Linked DNA regions of Homo sapiens: all the other regions are linked to region 3. The links are contacts of gene promoters, found by promoter capture Hi-C in blood cells and fetal thymus (Javierre and others, 2016). All regions are on one chromosome and are shown on one strand. The core of a region is centred on a gene start or on the middle of the fragment in contact, and the rest is flanking DNA. Distances in the headings are between cores, read along the strand shown. Region 1 overlaps TRPC1 (transient receptor potential cation channel subfamily C member 1). Region 2 overlaps PCOLCE2 (procollagen C-endopeptidase enhancer 2). Region 3 holds the start of PLS1 (plastin 1).

Region 1 (4,152 bases), core at 1,556-4,055, 190 kb before region 3:
AAAATGAAAACACACCAGACACTGATCTGGCTCAATGTAACTCTGAGTTACATAGCTAAATATCTTAGCTATTTCCAAAATAAACTTAATTTGTGCCTTCAATTGACATAGTAAATAGTCACCTTGTTGTGAGCAACCACTTTGAGGGCAAAGGTTGCCAAATAAAGAGAATTCATGACAAAACTGAGTTGATTACGAGATTCTTCTAAAAAGTCTTCCAACCCTTCATACCAGAGTCTTTTAATGTCTGACCAAATCATCCCTGAGAAAAGGAAGAAAAAAATCAGATAACACTTTCTTAATTCAATAAATAAACTAAATAATACTTTAAGACTCAAAATATTAAATAAATAATCCTTGGGCCTTATTCAAAAGAAAAAAAAACAAAACCAAAAACATTTTAGTGAAAAGTTCTTAAAATCTGAAAGAAAATAACCTTAACTTTCATACGACTTGAAGAAAATAACCTTAAGTTTCATCTTTGGATGTGGAACAAACGTAAGAAACCAAATAAATTAATGCCAAACACACATGGGCACAAACACACACACACGGATGCATGCACATGGATGCATACACAGGGATACAAACATACACGGAGACACACACGGATACACACATGGATGTGCACGCACACACGTACACACCCCCGCACAAGGGGCTCAGTCCCTGATCCTTTTCTTTTCTCTACCTATACTTACTACTTTAATGATCTCACCCAATCTAATGGCTTTAAATATCATCTACATGGCAAAGGCTCTCAAGTTTATATATTTAAGTTCAAATCTTTTACTTCTACAAATTTAAGTAAACCTAGTACCAGGTTTCAGCCTGTTTTGTTCTGTGAGTGCAAATGTCAAAAAAATGCAAAACCACTGCTGCTCATTGTGCATAGTGGGCACTGCACCCTCCCTTAAATCCCATTTTACTCAGAATCAAAACCAGTCTTTACAATGGCCTGCAAGTCTCCAAATTACCTATCCTCTCTGACCTCATCTCCTACTAATCTTTCCTTGTACTATTCTAGTCGCGCTGGCCTCCTTGCTTCCTTGCTGTTCTTTGAACACATGACTCCTGCCTTTAGGGCCTTTATACTGGCTCTTCCTTCTGGCTGGACCCTCCTCACCCAGAGATCCATTTGACTAACTACCTCACTTTTTCATGTCTTTGCTCATCACCCTTCCTGACTACCCTATTTAAAATTGCAAACTCTTTGCAACTTTAAAATTGTCCCCCACTCCCAATTCTCCTAACTCTGCTTTTACCTTTCTTTTGTATTACTTATCTCTTTTCTAACACTGAATATAATTTACTTATTAGGTCTATTATTAATTGATTATCTTTCCCCCACTTTGGGTAAGCTCTTCAAGGGTAAGAATCTTTGTTTTATTTACCGATGTTTCCAAATGTCCTGAAAAGTACCTGATACAAACAAGGTGCTAAAAAATATTGCCAAATGAATAAATATACAAAAATAAAAACCAAAGCAAACAAACAGAAAAACTTTCCGTTTTTTGGCCAGAAGCTCCTCTATAACTATATATTTTTATGGGTACCAGACTTCAGTAACATAATTCAGGATCATTTTATGGTACATTCCTTCATTAAGTCATTTTCGGGGAGACTACAGAGTAACAAAAGAATAGAGTGCTGTAGCATCACACATGGGTGGAGATCAAATTAGGCCAATCAGAATCATTCTCTGGCTTATCAGTAGGCAAAATAATTCCCCTGGGAAACACAAGAAACATTCTTGAAGATCTCTGTTCAAAACATCTTAATTATGCAGTACCCATATTTTATACAGAAAAAAAGTGTTTAAAACATTTGCAGATTTGACAGGAAAAACATTTTTAACAATTCCACCTTAGTATGTTTTTACTCAAAATGAATAGATGAAAACTGTCTAAAAATGTAAAATGAAATAGTCTAGCAGGTAACATTTTATTAACTCAAATACTGTTTTATTTGGGGAAGGAGTAGGGATGAAAGCTTTCTGATATTTCTCATGTTCAACCTTCACCTACCACTCAGAGCTGTGGAGCAGAAACATATTAAACAAATCCTCCATGACCATACTTTCTTGAAGACTCAAAATTATTGTCTAATTCTAGATCCTGATGTGTGCGAATCCTTATTTATGAAACATCTTCAAACAAAAACCCTTATATTTAAACTTTAGATACACTCCTGTTAATATTTAAAACATCAAACTAAGAAAGATGTTTACAGAAATGTGTTTATTTCTGTGAAATGCAATATTTTACCTAAAAGAAACTCTTAACAAAAACTTACAACATGAATTGGAGAAAACTGTTGATCAAAAAAGACAGACATGAAAGTACAGTGAAGACCAATTGGTTAGTTTCCCAGCTCCTCTGCAATACCCCCACAAAAATGAAGCTAATACACTTGATGTATTGCATGTTTCCAAGCTGGATCACAAAGAACATAGTAAGTTGAAACTAATCCAAGCAATACAAACACTACATAACCAACATTCTATATTTTAGGGTCTATTTTTTTTAGAATTAATGTTAATAATAACATTAGAAGGCAGCAATCCCAGCCATCTTGGGATTTCTCAAGGGCTTGATCTTAGGTCCTCTCTTTTTCTCAATTTATCTTTCTCCTTGTGTCTCACCTATGCCTATAGTTTCATATACCACCTATTTTCAGATATGCATACCTTTCTAACTCAAGCTCCAGACCAACTGTCTGCTTGACATCCCTAAAAGGGATATTTAAAAAATATCTCAAAGGCTTTTCAAACTCAACATATCCGAAACTGTACTCAGGATCTACCCCTCAACACACAAATCCCCAAGCCTAGTACTCTTCCAAAAGACCAATATTGCTTAATAATCTCCCTTTCCTTCACCTCTCATATACTATGTATTTCGATGTCCTACTGGCCTTACATTATAAATATCTCTGAAGTCTGTTCCCTTCTCTCTTTCTCTATCACAATCACCCTAAGTCCAAGGTGCCATCAGCTCTCATCTGGATTAGTGCAACAGCATCGATATTGGTCTCCCTCCATCTACTCCTGCCACAGCACTATCCTCCCAGCTCATCCTCCACCCTGTAGATAGAATGATCTTTTCGAAAGGCAAAACTGATCATGTCACTTGCCTACTTCAGGTAGGCAATGGTTTCCCCTTGTTCTTAATATAAAGTCAAAATTACTTAACCTGACCTACAAGGCCATGCATGGTCTGGTACAATATGTTTCTGTAGCTTCATCTTGAATCAAGCTCTCCTGGTTCTCCCTGCTCCAGAAATGTTAGCCTTTACTCAGACCCTTCTTTGTACCATTCTCTCTCTTGCCACTGAGCTTCTGAATGTGCTTTTATCTCAGCCTAGAGTAGCTTCCTCTCCCAGTTCTCTCAGTTGACATCTATTTATCTTTTAGATCTTAGCTCACTTATTACTTCCTCAACGTGTCTTTCCCAACCTCCCTGACTAGGGCAAATGCCCCTATAATATGCTTACTCTCCTAACACTATGATCTTTAACCAATAGCACTTAATCCATTTTTGAGTTTTCATTTTTCCATATGATTCTCAAGTCAAGTTTTTGATGGTTTTATTTGGCTTTTATTAGATCATAAGCTTCACGAGTGTATGGGCCATATCTGCTTTTGCCTGTGCTTAGACAAAGTAGGTACATGACATTTAAAAAATACATTTCTATAATAGCCATTCTATTATGTTTAATAGCAAAAATTAAGTAAAAGGATACCATTAATATTCTGTGCATTCCTCAACAAATTATTCTCTTTTTACCTACCTTGCTTTTTATAACCTAACCTTACTTTTTTCTGAAAAGCTAATGAAAGCAAACAAAACAAATATACAAAAATTGGTCATGATGAGTTAAAAAGTCACTGTGTTCATTGCTTGAAATAGTAAGTTGAACCAAGCAATGACTTTATTTAGGCAAGCAAGCAAAATATTCCTCCATGCTCACTTAGAGCCGGTTTGGATCTATATACTGAAAAAAAGCCCAGAGTGACCTAATTACATAAAAGGCTTAAGAAGACTTCCTTGGCAAGGCTTATTCAGATCAAACTGTTTCAAAGCAGAAGCTGTGCTGAGGAAAGGAAGATACTTCCAGGAATTTTACTGGCTTAATGCACATGCATTCTTC
Region 2 (4,374 bases), core at 1,566-4,065, 250 kb before region 3:
AAAGGAAATCTCATTTTTATCTGAAATGTTTTATTTACTTCATTAAAGGAGACTTTAAAAATCTATTAACAAAATGTTAACAAAAGTCAATTTCGTGGTTGGTATCCAGGTGTTATATTATTCTGTGTATCTTTCTGTATTTTTTATTTTTTTATTTTTTTTCTATTCTTAACAAAGAAAATTCAAGGATACAGACTAGATTCTCCAAGTGGAAAGGCCATCTTCGGAGAATATGCTCTCTAAAGTCCTTTATAATGACAATCAGGAGCTCTTATCAAAGCTTGCATCAGAGGGCATCAGACAATCTTGATCACTCATATAAAAAATGAAGAACGGATGTTGTGTCATACTGAAAAGGCTCACAGCAGTATGCTTCTCATTTGCAATAGAATTTCTCTCTGGCCTTCAGTGCAAGATGACATTTGTCTCTGGTTATAGGAGACTTACACTGGTACAGATCACCTCTGCATCCTTCTTTCAAAAGAAGCTTTGTCGGGGTTGTTCGGGTCAGCATGTGTTCAAAATTGCAATGATGTAACCCAGTTTCTATTGCTGATCATATTTGTGTCTCATTCTCAAATTTTCATTGCCATGGGAACAGGTACAAAACTTTTGGGAACAAATGATTTATTTTATTGGGAATGAGCATCCAAGTCCTGTAGTTAATTTCAACACCTCTCTACAGGAGAGAGTCAACAGAATTGTCTACGTAGTGTCAGAGAACCAAGAACCTGCCAATGAAACATGATTATACCTCCCTATTCCTCTCCTTGATGAAATAATCTAAAAGCCTCCTGGACAGTCTTCCTCGCTTCTTGCAAATTTTAACTCCTGGTTCACTGTCACTGTCTTCAACACTCTTCCTTGTCCTAATCAACTGTAATTTCAATATCTATATGGGTGATCTTCTCAGGTCTTTAACCTCTTCTCCGCCAAATAACTTATCCTCCATAGTTCCTCAGCCTCCCACTTCCACTGTTATTTTGTCCTTACTCCACCACAGTCTTGGTTGTTACTGTCCTCACCCCACAGCGTCCTGATTTCCATCCTAACCCAGTTTGGATTCCACAGCACATCATCATGGTCACTCCCTTGCCTATGTCTTCAACTCTCTTGTCCTTCTCTCCTGCCATATCCTCCCTTGGCAAACCTCACCACTCTCCCCTACTGCTTATATCCAACTCTCCACCTGCCCTGTACCTTTGCCCACGGAGCTGAATGTGGCTGGGGAAGAAGACCACGAACAAACAAAAACAAATATCGCCACCATGCAGAGAGGTCTTAATTTTAATTCATTTACTTCAAGTGGACCCCAGCAGTCCTGGTACTCCTGCTGCATTTCATTAATCCATTTCCTCACTTTCTCTTCTGTTATCAGATTCCCAGTAGTGCCTCTCTCTTCCACATTTGCTGCTGATGACCTTGTTTTCTATTTTACTAAGAAAAGCAATCCAGAAAAAAAATTCTATATATGCTTTCACCACCTCATTTACTGACCTACCTACATCTGTCTTCCCTTCTGTCATTGGGCAAAACTGTCCCTGCTCCTACTAAGGCCAACTCCACCAGCTGTTCCTTCTGTAGATCAGATCCCCCTTTGCCTGCTCAAGGACATCTGTTAAGCAATCCTCCCTCTCTCTTGCTTCATCAGTTTTGCCCTCTCTACAGAATCCTTCCCATCAGCATGCAAACATGCCTTAGGAAACACCCATTGCAAAAACTCTGCTTAGACCCCATATCCCCTTCCTTACCCCCATATTATTCTGTTCATCTTCACAGCAAAACTCCTTGAAAAGCTTGTTTATATTTATTGTCACCATTTCCTCTCACCCCATTTTCTCATGATCCTTTTATCCAGTTTTCTCCCCATGGTGCCACCAGAACAGCTTTGTCAGCATTACCAGTGACTTCTGGTTGCTAAACTTCTGTGTTGCTAAATCCACTGGTCTTTCTCAGCAGCAGCACTTAACTCAGTTGCCCATTCATTCCTCCTTGACATACTCTCTTCGCCTGGCTTCCAGACGCCACACACTTTGGTTGCCTCCTACTTGTTGACTCAGTCTCTATTGTGGTTTGACCTCTTCACAGACTTGATGACATTGGAGTGTTCCAGGCCTCTATACTTAGACCTCTTCCTTTTTCTATCCACATTCACTCTGGGAGTGACTTCATCAAGTTTCGTAGCTTTGAATTACCCTCTATACATTTATACAAATAGTCACTATTCATGCAGGAAAAAAACAAATTAGTTTGAGATTCTTTTCATGGCTAGGACTTTTTCGGTGATTCATAGAGAGCCTGCTTATATTTAAGATTACAGATGTGGCATCATATTTTGATAACTTTCTGATTATTGTACAAATAGAGGTTGTGTGCAAAACAAAAAACAAAGCAAAAGACAGGAAGTTTTACAACAGACATCTTGGTGATAATGTTTAAAATTTAAATTGTTCTTTCTGTTATTAGCTTCTTAAGCTGTTCTAAGTTCTTTGGAACTCTGATATTCACACCACTGAGACAAGCTTCTAGGAATTAGAATGCAACGATGGCAAATCCAAACATGTCCCTTTTGGGAACTACGCCATTATAATTTCTACGATGAAGTGTAGATGTGTTTGACACAAAAAGCAAATAGCACTGAAAACACTTCATCTTACCATAGGAAAATAAAACGTATGGCACTGTACTTACCAACATGGGGAAGCCGTATTAATGTCAAAGCATCTATTGACCCTTGAGTCTGAAATAGTTAATTAAGATGAATATAAACCAACCACTTTTGATTGTGTGTGTTTGATTTTTTTAATCACTGAGTTTTGTTATATGTAAGTTTTTACAGAATGGAATTCTCCACTATTCAGTGGAGACCTCATCTGATTAAAGGAGTAAAACAATTATGATCAAGACTTTATGACTGAACAACTTGAATGAAGAAATTAAAAGGTGGTATGAACTGGGAAAGAAATGGGGCTTTGGTAACCTGAGAATCCTACCAAATGCTTTTATAGCCATTTTTTCTACCTACTCAGGGAATAAGGAAGGAACCATCATTAAGAATTTTATGGGGAAATTATGATGAATAAAATATTATGATAAAATGAAAGCTTATCTTTTTCTTCATTAGCGCATTGTGTCTCAAGGCTTCCTGACATATAAAGTCTTCACCTGGAAAACAAATGAGCAAAAAACTTAGTGACATTCAGAAGAGATGATTCAGCAATTACTCAGTTCATTTAGTCAGTATCGGTAGTTCATCTGGATGTTTCAGGACCCAAAATGAATTATCTGTAAATTAACTACACAATTGCCAAATAAATCCTCTATTTTGAACTTCATAGAAACATTCTATACACAGGCATTGAATGCGTCCTACTGTATTATTTGTAAGAAATGATTTTTTTTTTTTTGAGGTGGAGTCTCGCTCTGTCACCCAGGCTGGAGTGCAGTGGCGCGATCTCGGCTCACTGCAAGCTCCGCCTCCCGGGTTCACGCCATTCTCCTGCCTCAGCCTCCCGAGTAGCTGGGACTACAGGCGCCCCCCACCACACCCGGCTAATCTTTTGTATTTTTAGTAGAGACGGGGTTTCACTGTGTTAGCCAGGATGGTCTCGATCTCCTGACCTTGTGATCCGCCCACCTCGGCCTCCCAAAGTGCTGGGATTACAGATGTGAGCCACTGTGCCTGGCCAAGAAATGATATTTTTAAATGTTTCTTTGCTAAGCAATATCTCTAGGTATTAGAATATGCAAATATATGCTAAGGTCCAATCAGGACTGGTATTCATTCTAAGCAATGACTCATCTATTAATAATACTGACCTAATATTTTGCAGCTTTGTTGAGGTAAGTTCTTAAGGAATAAGATTGTGAATCCTGGAGAATTGCAGAATTTGTCAAAAGAAAATAAGTACTTAAATTTTTTAGGAATGCAATATGCTAGAAAACTTCCCTTGGGTTAGTTCAGATATGAGAGAGGAAAAAGCATTATCTTGGATATTATACTTTACACACTTAAGTAAGTGACTAGATGTCAAAGCCTCAGATATTGTTTTCATGACAGTTTTCTAATTGGCGCTTTTCTTGGCAGGTTCCCGAAGGAAAAGTAGTCGTTCTCAATTTCCGATTCATAGACCTCGAGAGTGACAACCTGTGCCGCTATGACTTTGTGGATGTGTACAATGGCCATGCCAATGGCCAGCGCATTGGCCGCTTCTGTGGCACTTTCCGGCCTGGAGCCCTTGTGTCCAGTGGCAACAAGATGATGGTGCAGATGATTTCTGATGCCAACACAGCTGGCAATGGCTTCATGGCCATGTTCTCCGCTGCTGAACCAAACGAAAGAGGTACTGTTTCCACATAATGGCAATAACAACA
Region 3 (4,209 bases), core at 1,420-3,919:
ATTACATCACTAACTAAGAAACAGAGACAATGTCACAATTCGAGGTACTTTTTTTTTTTTTCAGATGCAGTCTTGCACTGTCGCCCATGCTGGAGTGCAGTGGCACAATCTTGGCTCACTGCAAGCTCCGCCTCCCGGGTTCATGCGATTCTCCTGCCTCAGCCTCCCAAGTAGCTGGGACTACAGGCGCCCACCACCATGCCCCCCCAGCTAATTTTTTGTATTTTTAGTAGAGATGGGGTTTCACCGTGTTAGCCAGGATGGTCTCAATCTCCTGACCTTGTGATCCACCCACCTCGGCCTCCCAAAGTGCTGGGATTACAGGCGTGAGCCACCACACCCAGCCAATTGGAGGTACTTTTAAGATAAAAAGAACATTATAAACCCATTACTAACACCCCAACCCTGAAATTCATTTTCAACATGTCTTTCCTTCTCTGCATTTAGTCTTTCACCACATGCTTCTTCCTTTACATTTCTTAATTCTGTGCCCTCTTTTCTCCACTTTGAGTCACAGGCTTAATCCAGGGCCTGGACCAACTGACCCGTGTTTTTACGCCTGTCTCCTGTAATCCCCCTAACTAATCTGTGATCTGTTATCAAAATATGAGGAATCAGAAATGGACTTGGCTGCTGTCTTGATACAGCTCTAACATGGCCTTCCCCATATTATAGAACACACATGAAATCTCTTTACAAAACTATACATACTGCACTTCCTTCCCCCACTCCCTCCCACAAACAGGGGCTAAGAATATACTTTGTGCTTAGTGCTGGGTGGGATGTTTAAGTCATAGGCTTTAACCTCCAAGAGCTTACACAACCTGCCAACTTCCTGGTCGGGAAGTTGGGAGGTGCTAAAATACTCAGGATACTATATACAATGGGGATACTAACAGCACAAACAACAGTAGTAAGTGCTATAGGGTTCAGAAGAGGGAGAGCTACTTCATGCTAAGGCAATCAAGGAAGGCTTCCAAAAAGAGGTCACACCTGAGCTACACCTTGCAGCATGAGCAGGACTTCAATACGGAAAGAGGGAGGCAAACAGGCATTTTGGGCAAAGGGCCCAGGTGACTGAGGGAAGGAAGGAGGGCGTTTTCAGGACCAGCAAATTGTTAGGTGGGGCTTCAGTGAAAGGGCACTTTTTGAAAGGAATTTATGAGGTACTAGGAAGCTTAGTAAGAGAAACAACTAATTTTCTGCTTAAGCCAGACTTCATGGTATAAGTAGAAGAGAAAAAGGAAGTTTAATAATGGAGGTAAAGAAGAGTATCTGCAGGGAGTGGTAAAAAGACCCCAGAAAATGAGAAAACCTGGATCCCAGGCCTAGCTTTGCCAATGAGGGGCTTGGGTGGCCACAGCAAGTCATCTAACCTCGCTGGTCTCAGTTTTCTCATTTGTAAACTGAAGCAGCTGAACTGGCTGACCTCAAAGGTCTCTACAGCCAAAACTAGACCAGCTGTATATTATTTCTGCCATTAAAACATTTATCATGGGAGGAATGAAGGGGGGCAGGATACCTGTATTCCCTTTCCATATAGGTTTCTCTTCCTGAACTTAAAATTTCCTCTTCCTAAACTTACTACCTCTCTCTCTATATATATATATGCCTCCACATTACACATTAACACTTTACTATAGAATTTCATTACATAATTCAACTTAAAGGAAAGCTGATTACAAAGGTGGTGGGGGGTGTAAAAGTACTTGCTTCAAGTTCAGTGTGTGCCCCCTGTCCTGAAATTTTGCTTCTGGCTCACAGGTTCTTCAAGAAATTTATGCAGCACAGCTGAAGCCTCATACAAGTGTATCCAACACCGTGGCTGGAGGGAAAGATATCACGGTATAAGCCATAAAATGTGACATAGTAAGTAAGTAAAGGAGGAAAAGTGAGAATTCTGTTACTCATCTAAACGACCGCTTCCTTTTAATAGTACCAAATGAAGACCGAAATACAGTAATAATTGAAAAGTTAGGGAGAAATCTTAAATTTTTTTAAGTCTCCACTTGAAAATGCAGCTGAAACACGGAAAGTTTTTTGGCAGTGAAATTCGCTGAAAACTGACATTTTTATGCCGCATCCAGAGGTCCCTATGCTCCAGGAAAGGTACCAAAAACAGCACGGATGGGATTTCACTACAGCCCTATTGATCCTATGCACCAAAAGGCCAAAGGCAAATAAACCAGTCCCAGAATTAAAACAAAACAGGCTGGTTCAGAAAGCCTCACCGGCAGCCACCCAAAGTTGAAAGAAGAAAACTTAATGAAATACCTTATTTCATTGCATAGAATCACAATTCAGTTAACAGGCTTATTGTTTAAGCAGTGTAAATACGCGATTTAACACCTGCGGGCACTGCCTGCCGGGACTGGGCAGAAGCGTGCCCAGAGGACGGCGGGCGCCACACTGCACAGCCAGGAGACGAGACGCGAGCGAGGGGACCCGGAGATACTGCCCCCGAGCCGCCGCGCGCCCCCAAAGGAGTAACGCTTCGCTTTCCATCTGTCTGTCCAGCCTTCCTTTTGGGCCCTATCCCCACCCCCGCGTACCTGCCGCCACCGCTGTCCTGCCTTCGAGAGGGCAGCTCCCACTGGAGATCCAAGTACCTGCAGGTCCACTCTGCGGCTACCTCTCCGCGCCCGCGTAGCCGCTGCGCTCGCGCCACTGCGCATGCTCGGCCGGCACCCGGGCCCGCAAACTCTGAATCCACTTGCCGCGTTTTGCCTGCGGCTCCCAGGGGAGGGAAAGGGAAGCCCAGAACCTGGGTTTAGGCTAAGGGTGAAAGAGGAGTTGCAGGCGCTGGGAGCGTGGATGGGGAGAGGTGGACGGGCGCTGCGGCAACGTTATCTCTACCGCCCACAGTTACCCAAGTCTAAAGATGACCACCTACACCCTGGGAATGAGTTTAGCACAGCAGTTCTCAAACTTGAGCGTGGATCAGAATCACCTGGAGAGCTTTTTAAATCACAGATCCCAAACCCGGAAACTGAGTTTCCGATTCAGTTAGGTCTGGAGCGTAGCGCGACAGTTCCCATTTCTAACATGTTCTCAGCGAAAACTGGTGCTACTAGTCTGGGTACCACACTTTGGGACCTGCTGGTCAAAAGGAAAGGTATACGTTATTAAAGGAAGACTTGTTTCTCTCCCCTACTCTTTTTTTTTCCGTTTGTTTCACGGATTGCTTCCTTTTCCTTTAACAGCCACACCTGATTAAAATAAATATATAACTAAAGCCCACACTCAAACAAAAGTGGGATATTTTCTCTCGCATGTGAGTCAGGTAAATGGAATGCTGCCTCAAGAGTTCTCACATACTTTGCCTGAAGCATAATCCGTAGTTGTGGTCTGTCCAACTCAGTCCAGAGAACAGAACAAGGTTTTGCTGCCCCTTTAACTCAAAGTCCCACGTGCCCCTTCTGCGCCTAACACAATATCCAATACAGAATAGGCACCCAACCAACCCTGAGATGGTAACAATAGAAAAAATAAAGGGGGGAAGTTGAAATTATTTTAAGAACTCAAACAAATTGGACGAGCAATGAACTATGAAAGTAGGTGGGCCATGGAGAGGGAAGATAAGGAATTTTTCCCACCTGCCACCTAGAGAATCAGGTGAATTTAGTATTCTTATCTGATTTTTCCCACCTGCCACCTAGAGAATCTGGTAAATTTAGTATCCTTATCTGATACTTATTTATCTAGATATGCAAGGGGAGTTAAGTAAGTTCTCACAAAATAAAGCAAAATATTTCCTTAAAAGGTAAACATACATCTAACATATGACCCAGCCATTTCATTCCTAGATGTTATCCAAGAGAAATTAAAACATATGCTTACACAAAAACTTGAACAGGAATGCTCATAGCAGCTGTTTTTCACAAAAGCCCCAAACCAGAAGGAACCCAACTGTCCAACAACATGTAAATGAAAAAACAAATTGTGGTATATTTATACAATGCAATACTACTCAACAATAAAAAAGAAGAAATACTCTCACACAGGACTCAATATGGATAACTCTCAAAATCGGTATGCTGAGTTGAAGAAGCTAGAGACAAAACATATTGTATAATCCCACTTATATGAAGTACAAACTAACCTATAATGACAAAACCCAGATTAGTAATTGCCTGGAGCCAGGAGTGGAGGGAAGGATAAACTGCAAATGAGCAGAAAAAATATTTTTGGAGGGGGACGATGGAAATT

What was found. The method cuts DNA at HindIII sites, captures the fragments that hold promoters and counts their contacts. A CHiCAGO score of 5 or more calls a contact.
Region 1: a contact is called between a fragment that was not itself captured here and the fragment with the promoter of PLS1 in region 3, in 1 of 17 cell types (megakaryocytes). The highest score is 5.0, in megakaryocytes.
Region 2: a fragment that was not itself captured here is called in contact with the fragment with the promoter of PLS1 in region 3 in 4 of 17 cell types (M2 macrophages, M0 macrophages, endothelial precursors and 1 more); the score reaches 7.6 in M2 macrophages.

What each region holds. Positions count from the first base shown.
Region 1 is chr3:142,787,129-142,791,280 of GRCh38, reverse strand. TRPC1 (transient receptor potential cation channel subfamily C member 1) reads right to left here. Exons shown (of 13, transcript NM_001251845.2): 8 at 123-262. Among named protein-coding and RNA genes, the nearest start is that of TRPC1, 65 kb to the right of the region's middle. The HindIII fragment of the contact is 1,622 bases long and covers 1,995-3,616 here.
Region 2 is chr3:142,848,186-142,852,559 of GRCh38, reverse strand. It overlaps PCOLCE2 (procollagen C-endopeptidase enhancer 2), which reads left to right. Exons shown (of 9, transcript NM_013363.4): 3 at 4,088-4,343. Among named protein-coding and RNA genes, the nearest start is that of PCOLCE2, 39 kb to the left of the region's middle. The HindIII fragment of the contact is 582 bases long and covers 2,525-3,106 here.
Region 3 is chr3:142,594,853-142,599,061 of GRCh38, reverse strand. It overlaps PLS1 (plastin 1), which reads right to left and starts at 2,669. Exons shown (of 16, transcript NM_001145319.2): 1 at 2,553-2,669. It overlaps PLS1-AS1 (PLS1 antisense RNA 1), which reads left to right. Exons shown (of 4, transcript XR_001740938.2): 4 at 1,765-3,153. RefSeq lists an enhancer at 2,374-2,613. The HindIII fragment of the contact is 10,696 bases long and covers 1,180-4,209 here.